Regions from separate parts of the Homo sapiens genome. Here all the other regions are linked to region 1. Evidence: promoter capture Hi-C in human tissues and cell types (Jung and others, 2019). All regions are on one chromosome and are shown on one strand. Each heading gives the region's core, a stretch centred on a gene start or on the middle of the fragment in contact. The rest is flanking DNA. Distances are from core to core; before and after follow the strand shown. Region 1 holds the start of LOC124904737 (a long non-coding RNA gene). Region 2 holds the start of SLC17A7 (solute carrier family 17 member 7). Region 3 holds the start of SCAF1 (SR-related CTD associated factor 1).

Region 1 (3,661 bases), core at 701-3,200:
AGCATCTAATGCTTGAGGGAAAGAAATGGTAGAGCCCATGTTAAGAAATGGGTCTCTGGCTGGGTGTGGTGGCTCACACCTGTAATCCCAGCACTTTAGGAGGCCAAGGCAGGCGGATCACAAGGTCAAGAGATCGAGACCATCCTGGCCAACATGGTGACCCTGTCCCTACTAAAAATACAAAAATTAGCTGGGCGTGATGGTGCGCGCCTGTAGTCTCAACTACTCGGGAGGTTGAGGCAGGGGAATCGCTTGAACCCGGGAGGCGGAGGTTGGAGTGAGCCGAGATCGTGCCACTGCACTCCAGCCTGGCAACAGAGCGTGACTCTGTCTCAAAGAAAAAAAGGGGGGTCTCCTTGTACATAGCCGGTCTTCGGGATGGGTGTTATGGGACCATCCACCATACAAAGTGCCTGGGAAGAGTCCACTCAGTGGCGTTGCGGGTGCTTAGAGAGTCCTTTGAGATCCAGATCTCCTTGGAGTGTCTATTCAAAGTCGGTGGGGGGCCGGGCGCGATAGTTCACGCCTGTAATCCCAGCACTTCGGGAGGCCGAGGTAGGTGGATCACCTGAGATCAGGAGTTTAAGACCAGCCTGGCCAACATGGTGAAACCCTTTCCCTACTAAAAATACAAAAATTAGCCGGGTGTGGTGGCAGGCGCCTGTACTCCCAGCTACTCAACAGACTGAGGCAGGAGAATTGCTTGAACTCAGGAGGCAGAGGTTGCAGTGAGCCGAGATCGTGCCACTGGACTCCAGCCTGGAGGACAGAGCGAGACTCCATCTCAAAAAAAAAAAAAAAAAAAAAAAGAAGAAGAAGGAAAAAAAAAGTTGGTGGGAATAGAAAAGTTGTTGTAGAAAACAGAGAGAACAGATCTGAAGATATGGATTGAAGTGATGTCCTTAGTGCATCCTCGTTTCCCCTCCAGGACTTTGTGGTGTATGTGATGACGCGAGAGCAGCACGTGTTTGGGCGAGGTGGGAACTCGTCTGGCCGCGGGGGGTCCCCGGCTCCCTATGTGGACACCTTCCTCAACGCCCCGGACATCCTGCCGCGTCACTGCACAGTGCGCGCGGGCCCTGAGCACCCGGCCATGGTGCGCCCGTCCCGGGGCGCCCCAGTCACGCACAACGGGTGCCTCCTGCTGCGGGAGGCTGAGCTGCACCCGGGCGACCTCCTGGGGCTGGGCGAGCACTTCCTGTTCATGTACAAGGACCCCCGCACTGGGGGCTCGGGGCCTGCGAGGCCGCCGTGGCTGCCCGCGCGCCCCGGGGCCACGCCGCCAGGCCCTGGCTGGGCCTTCTCCTGTCGCCTGTGCGGCCGCGGCCTGCAGGAGCGCGGCGAGGCACTGGCCGCCTACCTGGACGGCCGTGAGCCAGTCCTGCGCTTCCGGCCGCGCGAGGAGGAGGCGCTGCTGGGCGAGATCGTGCGCGCCGCAGCCGCCGGCTCGGGAGACCTGCCGCCCCTCGGGCCCGCCACGCTGCTGGCGCTGTGCGTGCAGCATTCCGCCCGTGAGCTGGAGCTGGGCCACCTGCCACGACTGCTGGGCCGCCTGGCCCGGCTCATCAAGGAGGCCGTCTGGGTGAGCGCCCCCCAATCGCCGTCCAGCCCCACCAGCGCCCCAAGTCCCTTCTCCAGCCTCCCTTCCCTACCTTCAACCCTTTTCATAGCTGGGCTGGATACTACTGTTCCCATGACGCCTCGGGAAGGATTTGGGGTTTTGGGTTTTGTTTGTTTGTTTGTTTGCTTTTGTTTTTGAGACGGAGTCTCGCTCTGTTACCCAGGCTGGAGTGCAGTGGCGGTCTTGGTTCACTGCAACCTCTACCTCCGGGGTTCAAATGATTCTTCTGCCTCAGCCTCCCGAGTAGCTGGGATTGCAGGCGCCTGCCAGCACGCCCGGCTAATTTTTTGTATTTTTAGTAAGACGGGGTTTCACCATATTGGCCAGGCTTGTCTGGAACTCCTGACCTCGTGGTTCGCCCGCCTCGGCCTCCCAAAGTGCTGGGATTACAGGTGTGAGCCACCACACCCGGTGTTTTGGGGTTATTAAGCAAGGGGCCCCCCCATAGAATGCTGGGAGATGTAGATCCACTGCACTTAGAGGGAAGCCCAAACTCACCTTAGGAGAGCTCACCTAAGCACGAACTCACCTTAGGAAGAAACCATTATGGGAGATGGTGGGGGAGAGATCCCACTGGATGAGAAGTTGACAGAGATCAGTGTGAGAATTCACCGCAGCCCATTGGGCTTGGAGCTTGGATAGCAGTGAGCGAGTTCATTCTTGGAGGCGAGGAAGCACAAATCCACTGGACCTACAGATGGAAGTTCCAGAAAGAAACCATTCAGAGTGGGGGAAACGTTCCATCCTATTGAGCTAGGGCCTAACCAGAGAGGTTTAAGGAGTTTCTTGGGGGTAAAAATTGGAGAAGAGGACCTGAAGGAGCTAGATCACTCATAATCATAGGGTGTGTATGTTTTAAAAAGTAAGGAGAGACCATTCTAAAGCTTGTGGGATTAGAATTTGTCTCAAGAGCCAGGCGTGGTGGCTCATGCCTGTAATCCCGGCACTTTGGGAGGCCGAGGCGGGCAGATCACCTGAAGTCGGGAGATCGAGACCATCCTGGCTAACATGGTGAAACCCCGTCTCTACTAAAAATGCAAAAAATTAGCCGGGCATGGTAGCACATGCCTGTAATCCCAGCTACTTGGGAGGCTGAGGCAGGAGAATCACTTGAACCTGGGAGGCAGAGGTTGCAGTGAGCCAAAATTGAGCCATTGCACCCCAGCCTGGGCAACAACAGGGTAACTCCATCTCAAAAAAAAAAAAAAAAAAAAAGAATCCGTATGAAGAGTGAAGGCCGGTTGCAGTGGCTCATGCCTGTAATCCTAGTTCTTTGGGAGGCCAAGGTGGGAGGATCATTTGAGCTCAGGAGTTGGAGACCACCGGTGGCAACATAGTAAGACCCCATCTCTAAGAAAAGTAGGACCAGTCTCTATGAGAGTTGTGCTTCTATAAAAACCAGGGTATTAACTCTTAAGCCCCTCAGTGGATCCCCCTCACCTTGATTCTGATCTTACTGTTCCACAGGAAAAGATTAAGGAAATTGGAGACCGTCAGCCAGAAAAGTAAGAGAAATTCTGAGCAGAGTGGTCTGGAGGGATGCAGGGGTTGGGTTTTGCGTCTAGTTCTGTGTTCACCCCATGCATGCCCCAGTGCAAGTTTCTGCTTCTCCTTGCGCTCAACTTTTCCAGCTGCGCAATGGGAGTTGGTCTTGCTCTCCCACTTAGACTTAGATCTTGGGGTTTGTAAACTATGATGAGGGTTGGGCAGGGATCACAAATTCCTTCCTCTTTTTCAAGCCACCCTGAGGGGGTCCCCGAGGTGCCCCTGACTCCTGAAGCTGTGTCTGTGGAGCTGCGGCCACTCATGCTGTGGATGGCCAACACCACGGAGCTGCTTAGCTTTGTGCAGGAGAAGGTGCTGGAAATGGAGAAGGAGGCTGACCAAGAGGGTGAGCTCTGACTCAGGCTCAGGCTTGTCCAAGTCTCCCATCATGCCCTGCACCTGGGGACCTGGGCTCCTGGCTGCCGACTTCTGGTTCTCCCTCTTAACCCCAAGCCTGTCCTCAGACCCACAGCTCTGCAATGACTTGGAATTATG
Region 2 (3,225 bases), core at 194-2,693, 710 kb before region 1:
GGGACAGATCTCAGGGGCGGAGGCCAGAGCTCGGTGGGCGGGGTCAGATTCCGGGGGCGGAGGCAGGACTGGGAGGTCGAGGACAGATCCCAGTGGCGAGGGTCAGAAGTCGGAGGGCGGGGACAGATCCCATGGGGCCGGGGCAAGACTGGGAGGGTAGGGAGAGATCCAGGGGGCGGGGAGAACTGGGTGGGCGGGGACAGATCCCATGGGGCAGGGGTAGAACACAGAGGGCGGGGACAGATCCCAGGGACGGAGGCCAGAACTCGGTGGGTGGGGACAGATTCCAGGGGGCAGAGATAGATCCTGTGGGGAAGGGGTAGAACTCAGATGGCAGGAACAGATTCCAGGGGGCAAGGACAGAACTGAGAGGGCGGGAACAGAGCCAGGGACAGATCCTAGGAGAAGGGGACACAACTCCAACGGTGGGGAGAGAACTCAGAGGGCGGGGGCAGAACTCAGGTCAGCGACAGATCCTAGGGGAGGAGACAAATTCAGAGGGCGGGTGAGGATGCCAGGGGGTGCGGATCACAATTTAGGGGGCGGGACAGATCTCAGGGGGTGGAGACAGAACTCAAATAGAGGAATGGATCCCCCGGAGCTAGGGAAGAACTCAGAGCGCGGACAGATCCCAGAGGAGCAGAGAAATAACACAATGGGGAGACTATGGGGTCGCAGCTGGCACTGGCGGGGTGTGTGAAATATAACTGTGGGGGGCGGAAGCCAGAGGGAAGAAAATCGGGGTTAGGGAATGAAACTCAGGGAGAGAAGCAACAGGGAGGAGAGAGACGCCGGAGGGAGAATAGAGCTGGAGGAGTATGGGATTCAAAGGGGAAAGATGGAAACTAAGGAGGAGATGGAGCTCAAGGGTGAAGAACCCGGGTGGCGAAAGGGACTAGAGGGGGACGACAGGTGGATCGAAGTAGGCGTTGGACTTGAGGGGAAAGAATTTCCCTTGAATGAGAAAACAAAGAACTCCCTGGATGAGACTATTGGAACTGGGGACGAGGTGGGATGGGGATGGAATTGCGGGGTGGGGGCGGGGAGGAGTGAAGGAACTGGAGGATGAACGCAGAGGGAAAGTCAGAGAAGACAGGATTGTAAGGGACGCAATTAGGGGGAACAGAAGTCGGGGAGAGAAATGATGGGGATGAGAACTCAGGAGAGGAGAGAAAATCTGGGTAGGAGCCAGGGGTGATGGAACAGGGATAGGGGGAGTAGCCTGGGGAAGGAACAGAATTGGGGGGCGTGAACTCGGAGGCGTGAGTTCAGAACCCACAGGCGTGGTCTTGGAAGGCTCAGGAGGGGACAGGACGAGGATGAAAGGGCTGCGAGAGGGGGCGGGTCTGACAGACGAGGGGAGGGGCCTGGTGGGGCCGGGGCGGGGCCTCCCGCGCCCCGCCCCCGGCGCTGAGTCCTGTGACAGCCCCCGGGCCGCCTGCACTTGCAGCCTCCTTCCCCCCGAGCGGAGCTGCGGGGCCGGCCGGGCCGGGGCTGGACCCCGGGAACCCGGACGCGGCCGCCCGGGCCCGCGGGCGGGGGGATCGGCGGGGGGGACCCGCGGGGTGACCGGCGGCAGGAGCCGCCACCATGGAGTTCCGCCAGGAGGAGTTTCGGAAGCTAGCGGGTCGTGCTCTCGGGAAGCTGCACCGGTGAGCCTGGCGGGGGTCCCGGGAGAAGAGTGGGAGGATCTGAGGAGGATGCTAATTCCCACCTGGGCGCAGACTGACAGATGAACGGGCGATACCCCGGCATGGGGGTCCACCCATCTGTCCAGTTTTCTGCCGTGGGCTCCGACGGCGCTGTTCTCCCTGGTCGAGCCTTGTCCATTATCCTGTTCCTTTTTCTGCACCCCACCCCACCCGGCTCCACTCTCTCTGGTGCTGTAAATGCCTCTCTCCCGGGTCTCTGGCTCCTCCCCCACCACTTCTGGGTCTCTGTCCCCGTCTCTTTCTGGATGTCTCTGCCCCTTTTCTCTCTGGGTCTCCGTCTCCCTCTTTTTCCAGATCTCGGCTCCCTTCTCTCTGGGCCCCTCCTTCTCCCTAGATCTCTGCCTCCGCTTCTTTGCGTCTCTGTGCCCCTCTCTCTGGTTCTCTGGCCATTGCTCTCACTGGATCTCTATCAACTCCTGACTCAGAGTCTCTGTCCCCCTCTTTCTGGGTCTCTCCTCTTCCCTGGATCTCTGGTCCCCACTTCTCTGGGTCCCTGTCCCCGTCTCTGTGTTTTAATTCTCCCACCATGGGTCTCTCCGTCTCTCTGTGTCTTTTTCCGTTTCTGTCTGGCATGGAGTTTAATCTGCAGCTAAAGCGGATTGGGGCTCATAGCCCGTTGTCCTTGAGGGGGTGAGGCTGGGTGGAAGAAGTCACAGCACCCTGGGTCCCTGGGAGAGAAAGGAGTTAGAGGCCAAAAATTTCGGCTCCTGGGGTAGGACAGCCTTCCCAAAGGATACAGGCTGGGGCTGACAGGGACTCCCTCCCAACCAGGTTGATGACCCCAGTGAACCGAGTGTCCCTCAGGATAATCTGGACACCTCCCCACAGGCTCTCACCCCCAACCCCAGCTTTGGCTCTAAGTCAGATAAATTACTCAGCTGCGGAAAAGCCTAAAAATATATCTGGCCACAGTGCACGAAGGAGATGGCCTCATCAGCACCATGCCCCTGCCGCCGTGCCCTCAGGCCCTGTCCCCTTGGCCCACAGCCCTGACCCTGTGTTTCGCTGAGCTTCAGTCCACCTCGCTAGGCCATGGGGGTCCTTTGCTAAGTCTAACATCAGTCTTGCTTGCTGCAGATCACCTCTTAGCTCCAAAGTTACCCCACCCTCTAGTAACATGAGAGACAAGAATAAGGCTGGACAGAAGTGGGGGGAGGTGGGCAGGAGGATGGTGCAGTGACGGAGGTTGGTGGTGGAGGGGAAGCTGAGATAACCTCACCCCTTCTTTTTCCAATTTTCCAGCCCCTCCCCACCCTTTTTCTCGCCTCCTTTCACGAGTTTCTCAAAATACATCAGTGTGAAGTCAGGAGAATGAGAGAGAGAGAAAGAGACGTGCTGGTGGAGGGGGCTGGGGGGTGGCAGCGGGAGGGATGTATTCCTCAGGCCCCTCCCTCAGTCTCTGCCTCTGTTTCTCATCTGTGCTAGGGTTTCTCACAGTCAATCTCTCTGGCTCTCACTCTCTGAGTTACCTCTTGGGTCCCCAGAGACCCCCGGGCTCTGGCCAGGACCATCA
Region 3 (3,325 bases), core at 132-2,631, 910 kb before region 1:
AGGCTTCGCAGACACACCCTCAGCTACTGAGATCTTCTGAACAGAAGAATGCTCTGCAGATACTGCTAGGTCCTATCTGGATCAGTGGTTTCCCCAACAACAGGGTCATATACCAGTTTAGTGCTTCACAAATAGCTTGTTTTAAAAAGTAAATAGAACAAAATAGTTCTTCACAGCACAGCACAAGTAGTAAGTGGAAATGTCAATTCGTGGAAGGTGAGTTAATGTTAATACATTATGTTATATAATGTTAAATACATTATGACTGTCTGTACCAGGTCTCAATGAAAAAATGTATCTTAATGCAGATCACGGTCAACATGGCCCAGGTTTCCCCTTGAAAAGCACTGTAATAGTGGGTCTAGATGACCCTCCAGACTCTTCCAGACTAATGTAGATTAATTCTAACTCTCTCAATAACCCCCAGGGTAATGCAGAATCTTAAAACATTTTTCATTTGAATTACTGTCTGAAGGGCAAGTATATCTAAGCTGGGCAAAATTTCCTCATTCTCTTTCCGTATTATTATTCGCCACAAGCTGCTCTGACCCCAAAGGCATTCGAATTTGCTCCAGGCATCAAAACTGCATTCCTGCAGTCACATTAAAGCCATCTAGATGGTTCCAGGTCCTTCTAACTGCCCCCAGCCTCCTGTCACCCATTATTAGACACTACCCATACCTTGGAGACCCCAGACCCTCAGTACATCTCAATATTTGGCGCCCTTCCCTGGTGGGCATAACCCAACCCCCTAGGGGGCCCTAAATGACTTCTTAGCCCTTGAACACTCCTTCTAGGCCTGATAAATGGCCCCAGACTTATGCAGACCAGTTGCATCCTCAGGCCAGCCCATGCAGACACTTTCCAGCCCTAAAAGACATACCCCAGGCCTCTAGATGGCTCTGAAGATACTCTTCAGGTCTTGCAGACCCTCCTTCACCCCTGGGACATATCTCAAGATCTCAAGATGGCCCCAGAACCCTCTAACCAGACCCTAGCCTCCGGTCAGCCCAAAAAGACAATCTACAGTGTCTACAGACACGATCCAGGCCAGCTGTGTGATGGAGGGCAGGCCTTAGGCTCGGTCTAGGCCCAGAGACGCCCCAAGTCCTCTCGGAGACGCCCCATAGACGCCCCCAGGAACCCACGGATGCGTCCCGGGGCCCTGAGAAGGCCCCCCTCTCGGCGCCAGGTTTCGCCGCAGCTGCCGGGCCCGAGACCGCCCCGAGAAGCCCTCTAGGACCCGTGGCTTGTGGGGAGGACCCCGGGACAACTAGCGACCCAACTCCGCCCCGCCCACCCCAATAGGCCCGAGCCCCGCGGCCCGGACTGCCGCCGCCATCTTACCCCGCCGCTCGGGCTGCGGCTCCGGCCCCGGCGCGGGGCGGGGCGGGCTGGGGCGGGGTTCGTGAGCAAAGGAGGAGAGAGGCGGAGCTAAAGCGCCGCCGAGCTTGCCGGGATTTCAAGTACCGAGCACGGCGACGTGAAGGCCGGCGGGAAGGCAACCGCACTCGGTTTCCCAGAAGCCAATGGGACACATGGGGCGGGGTCCGCGCGATGCACGCCGGGAGGCGTAGTCCGCGCACCGCCTCTGTCGCGCGGGGACAGCTAATGGGGTGAGAGGTGAAGTGGGCGGGGCCGCGGTAGCCCGCGATGACGCCCCACAGTGCCCTGCGCGCGCGCGGAAAGGGTGGCGGAACAGGAGGTGACGTAAGAGGCGCCAGGCAGAACAGACGCAAGGGAATTGTAGTCCGGCGGAGTGAGCACGACTTGCTGGATGTTGTGCTGCCCACATTCTGGGGCTCTCAGAATCCAGATCCTCTAGGCCCCCCTAAATTTAGAACCAGACGGGATGCAGTGGCGCACACCGTAGTCCCACTCGGGAGACTGAGGCGGAAGGATGGCTTGAGCCTAGAAGTTAGAAGCCAGCCTAGGCAATATAGGGAGACCCCGCCTCTAAAAAAATAAAAATAGGCCAGGCGCGGTGGCTCACGTCTGTAATCCCAGCACTTTGGGAGGCCGAAGCAGGCGGATCATCTGATATCAGGAGTTCAAGACCAGCCTGACCAACATGGTGAAACCCAGTCTCTACTAAAAATACAAAAATTAGCCTGGCGTGGTGGCTAACGCCTGTAATCCCAGCTACTCGGGAGGCTGAGGTAGGAGAATCGCTTGAACCCGGGAAGCGGAGGTTGCAGTGGGCCAAGATCGCGCCATTGCACTCCAGCATGGGCTACAAGACGGAAACTCCGTCTCAAAAATAAACAAATAAAAATAAACTTAGAACCTAGAAGCCCGACCCCATAGCCGCCTCGTTCAGTACAGAGAAGTCTGAATTCCGAATCCTCTCACTCAGAGCAGTGTCCAGACTCCTATTTCCCTCCTCCCTCCGACTCAGGAGTCTGATTCTTCCTTCCTCGGATCCAAGAGTCGGTCTCCCAGACTAGTCCTGGTCTCAAGCTCTCACATACGAATTCGGGTCCCCCCAAGCCAGTGCCCTCGCTCGGATCCAGAATCCTGGGTCCCCAGCCTCTCCAATTCCTGGACCTAAGAGTCCAGGCCCCCGGCTCCCTCCTTTACCGAACCTAGTACGAAGGAACCTGTCTACCTTCCTCCCTGACACCCTCCTCCCCAGGACCCAGGAGTCCACATCTCCAGCCCCATTTTCTCCTAAGGACCCAGGAGTCTGGGCCCTCTGCTTCCTTCTCCTTCAAGACCCAGAAATCCTGGCCCCAGGCTCTTCATGACCCAGGCATCCCTACTTGGGCGAGCTGGCTCATGGATTAGGAATGCAGTGATCTCACGGCCCCTCCCTGCCCCGTTACCCTGCTGTCCCCCTCTAGGGCCCCACTCTCCTCCCAGTCTGTCTTCCGCTTGGCTGGGACAGCGGGAACCGGAAGCCTGGGTCCCTTAGCGGGCGGAGACTCTAGCTTCTAACCCAGACGCCGGGGTCGAAAGCTTGGCTAGGATCCCAGGAGGGAGGTGGAGCTACTCCTCAAAACCTGCTGCTTCCTCGGAGCGCCCTATATACGGCCGCGCGCGCGAGTCGACGAGCTCCGCCTACCATACTAAGGCCTCGGAGACGATGCCCCAAGCAGCAGTGTCACAGGGGTCCTTATTTGCATAGCCCCTCCCCTGAGGAACTTTCCGCCCCGTCTGCTGAAAGAATAAATTCTTATTAGCATAGCCACGCCCACAGACCGCCCTCCCGCTGAGAGCGCGTGGCGCCGCTCAGGGCAAAGCACAGGTCTCTCATTAGCATAGCCCCGCCTCATTCGGAATTCCCCTTCGCAGCGAACGCCGTTCCCTTTCCCTTATTAACATA

What was found. Contacts are between HindIII fragments. The study calls those that stand out against the background at their distance.
Region 2: a contact is called between the fragment with the promoter of SLC17A7 here and a fragment that was not itself captured in region 1, in 1 of the 25 tissues and cell types used here (dorsolateral prefrontal cortex).
Region 3: a contact is called between the fragment with the promoter of SCAF1 here and a fragment that was not itself captured in region 1, in 1 of the 25 tissues and cell types used here (mesenchymal stem cells).

What each region holds. Positions count from the first base shown.
Region 1 is chr19:48,726,858-48,730,518 of GRCh38, reverse strand. It overlaps RASIP1 (Ras interacting protein 1), which reads left to right. Exons shown (of 12, transcript NM_017805.3): 5 at 929-1,582; 6 at 3,089-3,126; 7 at 3,361-3,512; 8 at 3,631-3,661. It overlaps LOC124904737 (a long non-coding RNA gene), which reads right to left and starts at 2,375. Exons shown (of 2, transcript XR_007067286.1): 1 at 2,151-2,375. The HindIII fragment of the contact is 9,581 bases long and covers 1-3,661 here.
Region 2 is chr19:49,439,745-49,442,969 of GRCh38, reverse strand. It overlaps SLC17A7 (solute carrier family 17 member 7), which reads left to right and starts at 1,443. Exons shown (of 12, transcript NM_020309.4): 1 at 1,443-1,652. The coding sequence starts at 1,591. The HindIII fragment of the contact is 22,755 bases long and covers 1-3,225 here.
Region 3 is chr19:49,640,265-49,643,589 of GRCh38, reverse strand. SCAF1 (SR-related CTD associated factor 1) reads right to left here and starts at 1,381. Exons shown (of 11, transcript NM_021228.3): 1 at 1,348-1,381. RefSeq lists silencers at 1,171-1,460, 3,321-3,325 and enhancers at 1,491-1,840, 1,951-2,050, 1,591-2,260, 2,261-2,930, 2,931-3,325. The HindIII fragment of the contact is 1,761 bases long and covers 1-1,435 here.